Linked DNA regions of Homo sapiens: region 1 is linked to region 2. Evidence: promoter capture Hi-C in 16 types of primary human blood cells and fetal thymus (Javierre and others, 2016). All regions are on one chromosome and are shown on one strand. Each heading gives the region's core, a stretch centred on a gene start or on the middle of the fragment in contact. The rest is flanking DNA. Distances are from core to core; before and after follow the strand shown.

What was found. The method cuts DNA at HindIII sites, captures the fragments that hold promoters and counts their contacts. A CHiCAGO score of 5 or more calls a contact.
Region 1: a contact is called between the fragment with the promoter of RS1 here and the fragment with the promoter of PHKA2 in region 2, in 7 of 17 cell types (naive B cells, total B cells, naive CD4 T cells and 4 more). The highest score is 8.5, in naive B cells.

Annotation. Positions count from the first base shown.
Region 1 is chrX:18,668,941-18,674,860 of GRCh38, reverse strand. RS1 (retinoschisin 1) reads left to right here and starts at 2,753. Exons shown (of 6, transcript NM_000330.4): 1 at 2,753-2,844. The coding sequence starts at 2,793. The HindIII fragment of the contact is 14,405 bases long and covers 1-5,920 here.
Region 2 is chrX:18,981,611-18,987,752 of GRCh38, reverse strand. It overlaps PHKA2 (phosphorylase kinase regulatory subunit alpha 2), which reads left to right and starts at 3,639. Exons shown (of 33, transcript NM_000292.3): 1 at 3,639-3,898. The coding sequence starts at 3,821. It overlaps LOC101928415 (a long non-coding RNA gene), which reads right to left and starts at 166. Exons shown (of 4, transcript XR_001755808.2): 1 at 1-166. RefSeq lists enhancers at 2,805-2,854, 2,836-3,336, 3,337-3,837 and a silencer at 2,955-3,644. The HindIII fragment of the contact is 8,902 bases long and covers 1-5,768 here.

The sequences.
Region 1 (5,920 bases), core at 1,504-4,003, 310 kb after region 2:
TTAAAAAAAAAAAAGGGTTTGGGTTAAACAAACAAAAAAAACCAAAAAGCGACAACGAAGTGTTTTTCTTTGTCCTTTTTTTCTTTTTAATTTTTTGGCATGTTTTTCTCGCAGAAGTGAAATGACAGATACCCTCTCCTATCCCACAAGGTCACTGCCGCCATAGTCCGACATGAGAAGTAGTGGAGGGCAGGGGCCGGGCGAAGTCCTAGACCCGATCCGGCGCCCCCGATCCGGCCGGGCCCTACCCCACCTCTCCTCCCAGTACGCCTCGGAAAATCGGGCGCTCGGGGAATGCACCTGGCTGCCCTTTGCCTGCAAGCCAGCAAGGGCCGGCCACCCAACCTCCAACTAAAATGTGGCAGGCAATACAGCAGCGCTTTGACTGCAGGTGAATTATTAAAGGTCGGTCATGATTATGACTCTGATTAAAAGTTCTATTTTTCATTAAACTCTGATGTGCAGAGCACGAAAAAAAAAAAACCCCACAGTCCCTTTTAATGCAGCAGTAGAATTTGTGGAATAGAGTTCATACACAGTATAAAATAAATGTCAGGCTTGTAGACATTCAATAAATACTGGTTGAATGAGCAAACGTTTCTCTAGTTTCTTTCTGTTCCTCTTTACTATTTCATTACAGTTTCCTTTGGGGAGTTTATTATTTGTTTAAATATTGGCTTTTTTATCTTTGACAAGAGGAATGAGGGTGTGGGCCATGGTGAGATGGTGGTAGCAAAAAATATAAAATGGGAAGGGGCACTCAGTATTTTTCTCTGCATTTTCAACCTAGTTATGCATCCTTAACAGTGTAGAAATTTGCGTCTTTTTCTAACTTGAGTGTAACTCTTTCCCTGTTATTACAATCACTTCATCAACTTTATTCTTTTTTTTTTTTTTGGAGGCGGAGTCTCACTCTGTCGCCCAGGCTGGAGTGCAGTGTCGTGATCTCAGCTCACTGCAACCTCTGCCTCCCGGGTTCACACCATTCTCCTGCCTCAGCCTCCCGAGTAGCTGGGACTACAGGCGCCTGCCACCTCGCCCGGCTAATTTTTTGTATTTTTAGTTGAGACGGGGTTTCACCGTGTTAGCCAGGATGGTCTCGATCTCCTGACCTCGTGATCCGCCCGCCTCGGCCTCCCAAAGTGCTAGGATTACAGGCTTGAGCCACCGTGCCCGGCCTTTTTTAAAACCACCTTAACCATTTTTTTTTTTTTTTGAGACAGAGTCTGGCTCTGTCACCCAGGCTGGAGTGCAGTGGTACAATCTCGGCTCACTGAAACCTCGGCCTCCTGGGTTCAAGCGATTCTCCTGCCTCAGCCTCCCGAGTAGCTGAGATTATAGGTGCACGCCACCACGCCCGACTAATTTTTGTATTTTTGGTAGAGACGAGGTTTCGCCATGTTGCCCAGGCTGGTCTCGAACTCCTGACCTCAAGTGATCTGCCTGCCTTGGCCTCCCAAAGTGCTGGGATTACAGGTGTGAGCCACCACCTCCAGCCCACCATAATCATTTTTAAGTGTACAGTTCAGTAGTGTTAAGTATATTCACATTGTTGTGAAACAGATCTCGGGAACTTTTTCATCTTGCAAAACTCAACTCTATACCTATTAAACAACTCCCCTTTTCCTCCCATCAACTTTATTCTGAATGGTGATGTAAAAATAATAGCTAATTATGTCTAGCACTGTGCTAAGTATTTTATACATATGATCTCTTGTAAGCCTCAAAATAACTCTCGAAAGTAGGCATTATTATCATCATCTTACAGATGAGAAAGTTTAGGCGCAGAGATATTAATAACTTGCCCTGAGGTCACAATGTAACAAGTGCTAGTGCTGCGATTTGGCACCCAGTCTGGGTTGGCAGTCTGTGCTCTTAAACCTACCAGGCTGCACTCATCTCTTGATTTACTTAACCAGCCCCCTAACCTTGGCCATTTAGATTGTTTCCAATTTGTTGTTGTTAAAAGTAACACAGCAATGCACAGCTTTGTGTTAACTGTCCTCCCACCACCACCAAATTTAGCATTTTCCTGAGTGAATAGGTGTGCACATGATGCCTAGTTGCTTTCAAAGAGGGGAATCCATGACATTTTCATACAATTCGAGAATGTTAGTGCTTATGTGGCAGGAAATTGTTCAAGGTCACCCCCTAAAAAATGATGGCGAAGAAAGGACGAAAACCTGAGACTTCTGGTTGTAGTTCTCTCCCTCCATTGCTTCCCTTACATTAAGATAGAATGAACAGTATGGGCCGGGCGCAGTGGCTGACGCCTGTAATCCCAGCACTTTGGGAGGCCGAGGTGGGTGGATCACCTGAGGTCAGGAGTCCGAGACCAGCCTGACTGACATGACGAAACCCCATCTCTACTAAAAATACAAAAATTAGCTGGGCGTGGTGGCGTGAGCCTATAATCCCAGCTACTCGGAAGGCTGAGGCAGGAGACTAGATTGAACCCGGGAGGCAGAGGTTGCAGTGAGCCGAGATGGCGCCATTGCACTCCAGCCTGGGTGACAAGAGCGAAACTCCATCTCAAAAAAAAAAAAAAAAAAAAAAAAAAGAACGAAAAGTATCTTCCTCGCGAACTGAATCTCAGTTGATGCTAGTATCTTCCATGAGACTTCCTTGTTGAGGCAGGTAACTCTGTGGGTTAACTTGATGGGGCTCAGCCAAAGACCTAAGAACTAAATGGATTAAGATGCTTAATGAGGCCAGGGCTCAACTTAATCCCCTGCTCCTGGGCCAGCTCTCCAGTTCAGTAAGGTAGAGCTTTGGCCGAGGACGAGGGGAAGATGTCACGCAAGATAGAAGGCTTTTTGTTATTACTTCTCTTTGGCTATGAAGGTATGTGCTATTCAACCATTGACATTCATTGCATACTTAATACATAATTTAATTAATATCGTTGATAAATAGGAATATAGCCTGAATAATATAAATATTATTAATTAGCAACACGTTAATTAACTAACATGTGTTATTAATGAACAACAGTTGTCTTTGTGTGGATGGCTTTCCAGTTCTGTGAGGAGCCTTCTAAAGTTCAAAGGATGCTTAAAATCCAACAGAAAACAGGATGGGTCTCAGAAATCTATAAAATAGCCATAAGTTGCAACAATTAATGAGAAAGTATGGCATATTCTGGAAAACTTTTAGGAGTCAAAGTGGGAGTGATTGTAGAATTTAATATTCCAAACCGGAATGCTATTGACGGTGGAGGACGATGCTATTAATAATTCTGTTGGGACGACAGGTGTAACCCAGGACCATCCAGGGCAAATTGGGGTGTAAGGTCAACCTAGTTTAAATATGGATTAACGTAACATACCCAGTACCACTGGAATCTAATAAAAAACATAATCCAACTGAGAGTCAGGAAACCTCGGAGACTCAGTACACTCACTCATTTTAAAATTTCTAAATATGACCCTAGCAGAAGTGATATGCTTCAATTAGGAAAAAATAAGGGCAAATCTGTAAAATGTCATCCAGTTCCAATTCCCTCTCAATCTTTGAAATAATATTCTTTCATGCCTCTCTCAATTCTCAAGTACCCATCTGCTCAGAATTTCTCCTCAGGTTCATCCAGATGTTAGAAATTGGTTGCCTGTCTTCTTTGTGGACATCGTGTATTTGTGTGTTATAGAAAATAAATTAAAAAGCAGGGAGAAGGAGGTCTCTGTGCTCTGCAAATGACCTGGTAGACAGACACAGCGAAACTCACACAAGTAGAATCAGAATTCTTGGTTTCACGGCTCACTGTAGCCTCAACCTCCCAGGCTCAAGCCATCCTCCTGCCTCAGCCTCCCTAGTAGCTGGGACTACAGGCACGCACCACCACATCCGGCTAATTTATTGTATTTCTTGTAGAGAGGGGTTTTCACCATGTTTCCCAGGCTGATGACTTTTGTTACTTAGTCACATTTCTCAGTATTTGGAAAGACTGGTGACAATATAATTCCAAGGTCATTCTGCAAACCCCAAGGTATATTTCTAAGTAGGGATCATGTAAACCAGTTGTCTGTTAGGATTTTTTCCCCTTGCAATTAATAGTCTGCAACTTGTCCCAGTAACTCTGACTACTTTAAGATGCTTTGGGGTTTTGTTGTTTTTCCTTTTACTCCTTGCCCCCTCCTCTTTCCTCAGCAAGAAAATCTAAGCAGACTCTTTCAAGGCTTAGATCTAAATACTCCTGGTTGTCAGACACTCCCAGGGCTCACTCTCGGATTTCTCTTCTTTGTGATTGGCATGGAGATTCATTCATTCATTCCTTGGTCCCTTCTTTTAAGAGCTCATCCCTGACTATCTGCTAGGGGGCAAACATTGTGTATGACGGCGGGGCGCGGTGGCTCATGACTGTAATCCCAGCACTTTGGGAGGCTGAGGCGGGTCTATCACCTGAGGTCAGGAGTTTGAGACCAGCCTGCCCAACCTGGTGAAACCCCGTCTCTACAAAAATACAAAAAGTATCTGGGCATGATGGCAGGTGCCTCTAATCCCAGCTACTCGGGGGAGGCTGAAGCGGGAGAATCGTCTGATTGCTGGAGAGGGAGGTTGCAGTGAGCTGAGATCATGCCATTGCACTCCAGCCTGGGTGACTGAGCGAGACTCAGTCTCAAAAAAAAAAAAAAAAAAAAGGACTTGACATGCAGGGCATCCTTGTTTCTTCCACAGTGCTGAGTCTAACAACCCTGTTCTGTGACCTCCCCACCCCCGCGATGCGAAGAAGTCCTAGAAATGTTTACCAAAGCATTTTAAAATTAGACCTGCCCAGTTAGTGGATATCAGCAATAAAAGACAGGCTGTCAGGAGGCATGAAGGATAGCACTCTTTCGTGTTCTAAAGTTTACCAATCTTTGTGCATGGCTGGGGAGCTCCAGAAATGTCCACGAAGAGCAGAGAACATCGTCTCTCCAGGTGCCCTGCAACGTGGGCCAGTGGGAAGGTTTGGGGAGCTTAAATTATCTTACTTGCTTAACGCAGGCCTTTAACAGCACTTGAAAGGAAAGCAGCCAGCCAAAAATAGCCAGTGTGGCTTGGCAACCTACTGTGTGCCCTACCCTGGGCCAGAGGGATGCTCCAGGGGACAGAGGACACAATCACTGAACTTAATCAGCATATTATCCAGATGGAGATGCATAAGGCCCATAGACATGGGAAAGATGCATCCCATTGTACAGCTGGGAACCTGAAGACAAAGGCTGTTTGTCCAATTTACCCTCCACTGCTTCTGTCCTTCAGTGGCAGTGTCTCCTCATTACAGTGAAATAAGGTAAAGAAATTGCCTTCACTTAGGCGTTGGATGAAGGTTCATTTCGGAGAGCACACAGCCTCACAGTAAGGCATTTCCTATGTCTTTTTTTTTTTTTTTTTGAGAATTTCACTCTTGTTGCCCAGGCTGGAGTGCAGTGGCGTGATCTCGGCTCACCACAACCTCCATCTCCCGGGTTCAAGCGATTCTCCTGCCTCAGGCTCCCGAGTGGCTGGGATTACAGACGTGTGCCACCACGCCCGGATCATTTTTGTAATTTTAGTAGAGACGGGGTTTCTCCATGTTGGCCAGGCTGGTCTCGAACTCCCGACCTCAGGTGATCTGCCTGCCTCGGCCTCCCAAAGTGCTGGGATTACAGGCATGAGCCACCGCACCTGGCTTCCTATGTCTTATAATTGAGTCAGGCTTCTATTTCTCTTACACCGCACATATTGGATTCAATGCCAATAAGGATTTTTAGAACATCCATCGTATTAAAATATCTTACTTCATTACTTGGTCATGTTTATTATATAAAAACAAAAAAAGTCCTTCAGCCTCAACTTATAGGTGACTGTGTTACCATCAGAGATTGCAGGGGTTTTTTTAAAGCAGTTTTATTGAGATGTAATTTATATACTCTTAAATTCACCCATTGAAAGTCTATTG
Region 2 (6,142 bases), core at 2,390-4,889:
TTTAAGGACTAGTTTGTCTTTGTCTCTGCTCCTTGCTGTTCTAGTTGGAGTCCGAAGGAAAGGAAAAAGGAAAGACTGGGTAGACATAAGAACATAATCTTCAATTTGAAGAATTCTTATCAGTGTATACTTTTTTTTTCTTTTTTTTTTTTTTTTTTTGAGACAGAGTCTCGCTCTATCACCCAGGCTGGAGTGCAATGGTGCAATCTTGGCTCACTGCACTCTCCACTTCCTGGGTTCAAGCAATTCTCCTGCCTCAGCCTCTCGAGTAGCTGAGATTACAGGCACCTGCCACCATGCCCAGCTAATTTTTGTATTTTTTGTAGAGATAGGGTTTCACCATATTGGCCAGGCTGGTCTTGAACTCCTGACCTCAAGTGATCCACCAGCCTCAGCCTTCCAAAGTGCTGGGATTACAGGTGTGAGCCACTGCGCCTGGCCAGTATATACTGCTTTCTTTTCATGTTAGTCTCCAGGTACAGCATCAAGAAGTCAGAGCAGGCAAAAATGGAATATATGTTCTTTTAGAATATATTCTTTTAAATATATTTAATAAATATATTCCTCACTGTGAAGAAATCTTATGTTCCCTGGTGTTTCCTCTCTTTATCTCTTAGCCTCAAACGAGCTACAGGAAGCTGGAGCAGAGACAAATTCAACATTCTTTAAAATGTAACGAAAAAATGATTTCCAGTCAACTAAATTATCATAGAAATAACTAAATTTGGTGAATTGGTCATTTTCAGCAAATTCATTCAGAATTGACCTTCTGGGTCAAAGATGGAGTGATTTTCTTTAGAGCCAAAGACCTGAACCCTACAAGAGAAACATTTATTGGTTTCCACCTTGGATGTTAACATGGGGCTCTCTGGAAACTACCTGGGCTGAAGTCTCTGTGGCAGGATGATGGCAGATCCTCTGGCTGGGGTCAGAAAAATCATACATGGTGCTACCCCAGGGTCCAGTTCTGGGTCTTCATTTTTATGGAGATCATGAATCAGCTTCAGAAACAATAACATTCCCTATCATTATACTATATCTGATTCTTGACAAATATTTGAGAAATGACTTGGAGACAAGTTTCTATTGGTGATAACCAGAGAATGGCTTCATGGATATGGGGACCAAGATATGGAGGTTTTGCACCTCAGGGATATGAGGATACTAAAATGTGAGACTGATTTATTATATAGTACAGCTTTCTGGTCCAAAATGAATCACTAAAATTTGCTTTAAAAATTTAAAAGCTAAAACGGAGTAGCCTTCCTTCTTGGTTTTATCCCAGAATTTTGAGCTTATTGAAGAACATAGCTTATATATTGCTATGCAATCGCATAGACCAAAGCCGAAGAATGTAGATTGCCTATACACCAAAAGGGGTGCAAATGTGCACAGCAGAATTAGCGAAGAATGAAGTCAGGAAACTGAAAATGTTTCTATACTAGGTGGAAATGCCAGATAAGGAGCAAAGATCATCAGTTATTTCCCATATGGCTGCAAAATCAACTCCTAAGGAAGGACCCAATGGAAACAAAAGCCACAATGAAAAGAAGCAATGATCCCAGCTTTTAGATGGAGATGAATACATGAAAATTCTAGCAAGAGTACATATTCAGATTCCAAAACATTTAGTGGTGATAACAATGTCTAGTTTTATTCACCCCTAGACCACAGCAAATTCTTCATGGAGGCACATCACATGGATCACTGCATAATTCAAAAGCCAATATTAAGAAAACAAAGTATTATATGAAGTAATATGTGAGCTGATGTGGGGTTTGGTGCTTTAGTTGAGTGACAGAGTAAAGCCATAGATTTATGTTCTGGAATATCTAATATAAACTTGGTTAAGGACCAAACATAAGGGAACGCAGCTAAGCAGGACTGATTTCATTTACTCATGCGAGCAACATTAATTGAGCTCCAACTATATGCTCAACACTGTACCAGGCATAGTAGGAGATACCAAAAGACTGTTTCAATGAATAACGTACATTCCAATTAGGAAAATATGCCTCATCCACACATGAAAACATAAATAACAACAGGAGGCAATACATTGTGGCCAAGTGACAACGAAATTAGCTATGATTTATTAAGTATTTTTCTACTAGCCAGGCTTGTGCTAAATGCTTTATATTCATCCTCTTGATCTTAAGTCATCCTGTGAGGTAGGTGCTATGATTATCTCCATTTTACAGATGAGAACACTTAAGTTCAAACATGTAAAACGGGATGCCAAAGGTCATACGACTTGTAAATGACAGAACTGACATTTGAACTCAAAATGAACTGACTCTAAGTCCTAAGCTCTTACTAAACCAATGGCTACAGAAATTCAGAAAATGGGGAAGGCTAATAGAGGAGCTGAGCTGGCCGTTAAGGGAAAGATAGGCTTCAGTTAGTCAAGGAGGAGGAAGAAGGGCCGAAGGGGTCAAGCATAGAGTAAATGCATGGAGACTGGAAAAGAGCTTGCGGAAATTGATTGCATTAGTCTAGCTGTCCAGTAAATTCCTATGTGGGCCAGATTTTGGTGGACAATGAATACCAGGCCGAAGATTGTGAACTGTAGGTTATCAGCAGCCACGAAACATTATAATGAATGCCAAGTTTCAAGCTGTAGACCCGTGGGAGATGAACTGCGAACCTGCCCGAGGAAGCGGCGCCCAAGTGGCTAGGGGCGGGGTCACAGGCGCCAGAGGTGTCGCTGGGGCACCTCTCCGGGCCTTCCCCCTTTTTCTTCCGGGCTGGGTCCCGCTACTCCAGTTCCGCTAGGCGGCGGAGACGGGGCCAGAGGTGGGACTACAATCTTGGCCCTCAGAGGGGTGCCCAGGCGGCCGCGGTAGGCGGCCCTCTTTCTCCGGCCTCGAGTGGGACTGGCACCCGTCTCGGGGGGCTCCACACTACCACGCAGGAAAGCCAACTCGTCCGCCGCCCGAAGCCGGGTTCCCCTAGACTCCCACGGGCCGCCTCCTTTTTCGTCCCCCCCGAGGCCGCGACTCTGAGGGTTCCGCTCTGCGGCGGAGGTGGGGCCAGGGGCGGGGATGTGGGCGGGGCCGTGAGGTCGTTCCAGGGCGCGGGGCGGGGCCGCCCCCTTACCTGTGCCCCTCAGGGTTCCAAACGTTCCACTCCGCGGCAGGGGCGGGGGCGAGTCCGGAGGGCGGGTCCAAGGCGCCCAGGTGGCCGCGGCAGAAGGGCCTGTTTCTCTGGCCTTGGCTGTGGTTGGCAGCCGGCCGGGGAGAGAAGGGACTCAGGGAGGCAACCTGGTTCCCGCCCGTTGCTGATTTCGCAGCGGCTCTCCCGGGCCGCCCCCTTTTCCTTCCTCCTCAGGCCGCGACTTGGAGGGTTCCGCTCCGCGGCGGGGGCAGAGCCAGGGGCGGGGCTGAGCGCGGCCTGGGCGATCTCCCCGGCGGCTGGGGTGGGCTGGCGTCTTCTTCGCGCCCGGGGGACCTCCTCGCGACCGCCGGGACGTAAAAGGGGCTTGGCAGGGGCGTCCTCGCCCCACTCCCGGAACCTGGTTTCCCGCTGCTCCCGCGAGCGTCGGGAGCCCAGCAGGCCTGGCCGAGGCGGGACCTTCGTCGCTCCAGCCCCCGTCCCCGCCCCCGCGCCTCCCCGCCGCGCGGAGCTCTGGTTGGCTTGCTTTCCAACCGGACTTTGGGGCTAGCGTTTAGAAAAGTCTCGACCTCCTCCGGCCCGGTCCCATCCCAAGAACCGACTAAGGCTGTGAGTGTCCGGGAACCAGACCCGCTTGGAGGCCACAGCCCCGACGTCCCGCGCCCACGCGGCAGATCGGGCGCTGCGGCCTGGGAGCCTCGGGGAGATGCGGAGCAGGAGCAATTCCGGGGTCCGCTTGGACGGGTACGCGCGGCTGGTGCAGCAAACCATCCTGTGTTACCAGGTAAGGAGGGACCGCCCCCAGGGAACGCGTGGAACTACCCTCTCATGTAACTCATTCTCCTTCCCAGGTCTGGCCCTCTTGTGACCTGAGACCTTGCAATTAAGAGTTTGCTATTTGAATCTAGTCCTTGCTAGCCAGTGATTACCACCCCATTGCCACCCCGTGCTCCTTAAGATTCAGGGGACCTAACTGTTGCTACGGCTACTTTTCACAGAATTCTTTGGCCATTGTTCAGGATGAGAATGAGCCGCCTCCGTGCCCGGGTCCAAACTGCCTCTTTTTGCATTGACTCTGCTTTTTTTGGACGAGAAGAGGTGTGGGGGGTTTGGACAGACTACACTGAATGAGAACAGTAGACAGGAGTGAAGAAGCTCCTGAAGTTTACGCAGGACTCTGCAGTGTGGGGCGACAGCTACCGTCCCTCCCATGAGCTGTCTTGGTAGAGACCCACCTGGGAAGCCCTTAGGGGCTACTTTGGTTGCTATTTTACAGATAAGAAAATTGTGAGGCTAGAAAGGTCACTGCATGTAGCAGGTCAGACCCAAAGGCTCCCAAGCTCACAGGGTCCTATGACACTGCCCATGTGGTCCGAGGTATGAATTTGCCTGCTATGCTTTGTATTCCTGGGCTAAAATTATGTGTGGGTCCATCAGTGTAAGACCACTGAACTATTTTTATTCCTAGTGAAGACAGCAGCTATGTTTCTTGCCCTCAATCAACAGCAACTATTTATAGGGCCTTCAAAGTCAACGAAGGAAGTGGCATTCAGGGGTTAGAGGCCTGACCTGCAAGTTGGGAGCCATGGTCATTTCCAAGGCACTGACCATTTTCCCTTCTTAACTAATTTCTTAGCCTTGTTTCCTCACTTAGGAAATATTTGTGGTGTATCTGTTATATGCAAAGCACTCTACAAAGTGCTGGGGTTACAAGAATAAATGATCGTAGTGCAGTAACATTTATGCATAAGGTATAGGTCCAAAGTCCCTTAATCTGTTTTCTTTGTTGTTGTTTGTTTGTTTTTGAGACAGGGTCTCACTCTGTCTCCTAGGCTGGAGTGCAGTGGCGCGATCTCGGCTCACTGAAACCTCTGCCTCTCGGGTTCAAGCGATTATCCTGCCTCAGCCTCCCGAGTAGCTGGGACTACAGGCGTGCGCCACCACACCCAGCTAATTTTTGCATTTTTAGTAGTGACGGGGTTTCACTGCGTTGGCCAGGCTGGTCTCGACCTCCTGACTTCAAGTCATCCTCTCACCACGGCCTCCCAAAAGTGCTGGGATTACAGGCATGAGCCACTGCACCTGGCCTCAGAGTCCATTATCTGAAACCCTTTGGACCAGTTGTGGTTTGCCCATCAGAAATGTTTGGCTTTTAGAAAGGTAATATGCGTACAACGTACTATATATACCATAATAACTGCAGCCAGATCTGGGCAGCACCCCTTCATCAAACAGGTTATTACTTCCACATCAGAATATGAATATTCACATAATTTCAGTAAAGGCTGAAAAGAGTTTCATATTAGTTCGGCTCATCTTTTGCCACCAAAAGAGCTTGCTGCAAACTTACGAAAACACTTTAAATTTTCAGAGCTTACTGGCTTTTGAGATTGCACATGAAGGATGATGGTCTTTATTTTGAGAGCTTTGAGGAAGGACCCCTCGCCCAGTTTGTGGGAGCAGTAGAGGAGTCCTGGAAGAGATGATGTTCAAGTTGAGAGCAGAAGAAGTAGGCAGGCAAATCAAGGTTATTTTTCCCCTTCTTCCTTGGAATATATTCTAATTACATCTATAAAGTGTTTTAAAATCCAAGTTGAAAAACCTTTCCCTTCATGACTGTGATGGAGAGGGCTTTAAGGAGAGCTGATGAAGCTTGGTTCTTTTGTCAGACCTGGGTTTGAATCCCCTGCTCTGCCTTGAATGACATGTGTGACCTTTCTTGATCCCTTCTGAGTCCATGCCCTCATCTGTAAAGTGAGGATAATAACACTTGCTTCCACTGAGTGTTTCTAAGGAAAAAATTAGTGCCTACTATCTTGTCTGGCACCTACTGGGCAACAGTAAATAATGGGTGCTCTTGGTGGTGTTATGATTTTGATAGAGGCCACACGTTTGTGCCCAGGCCTCGTGGTCCTTGCAGGAGTACTCTGGCTCATGGTGCGCCCTTTCCTGAAGGTCCTGCTACAGCTCCGCATTCCTTGAGCATAAATATGTCTCCCCATTGATGCCAAGAGATCCTAAGTACAGA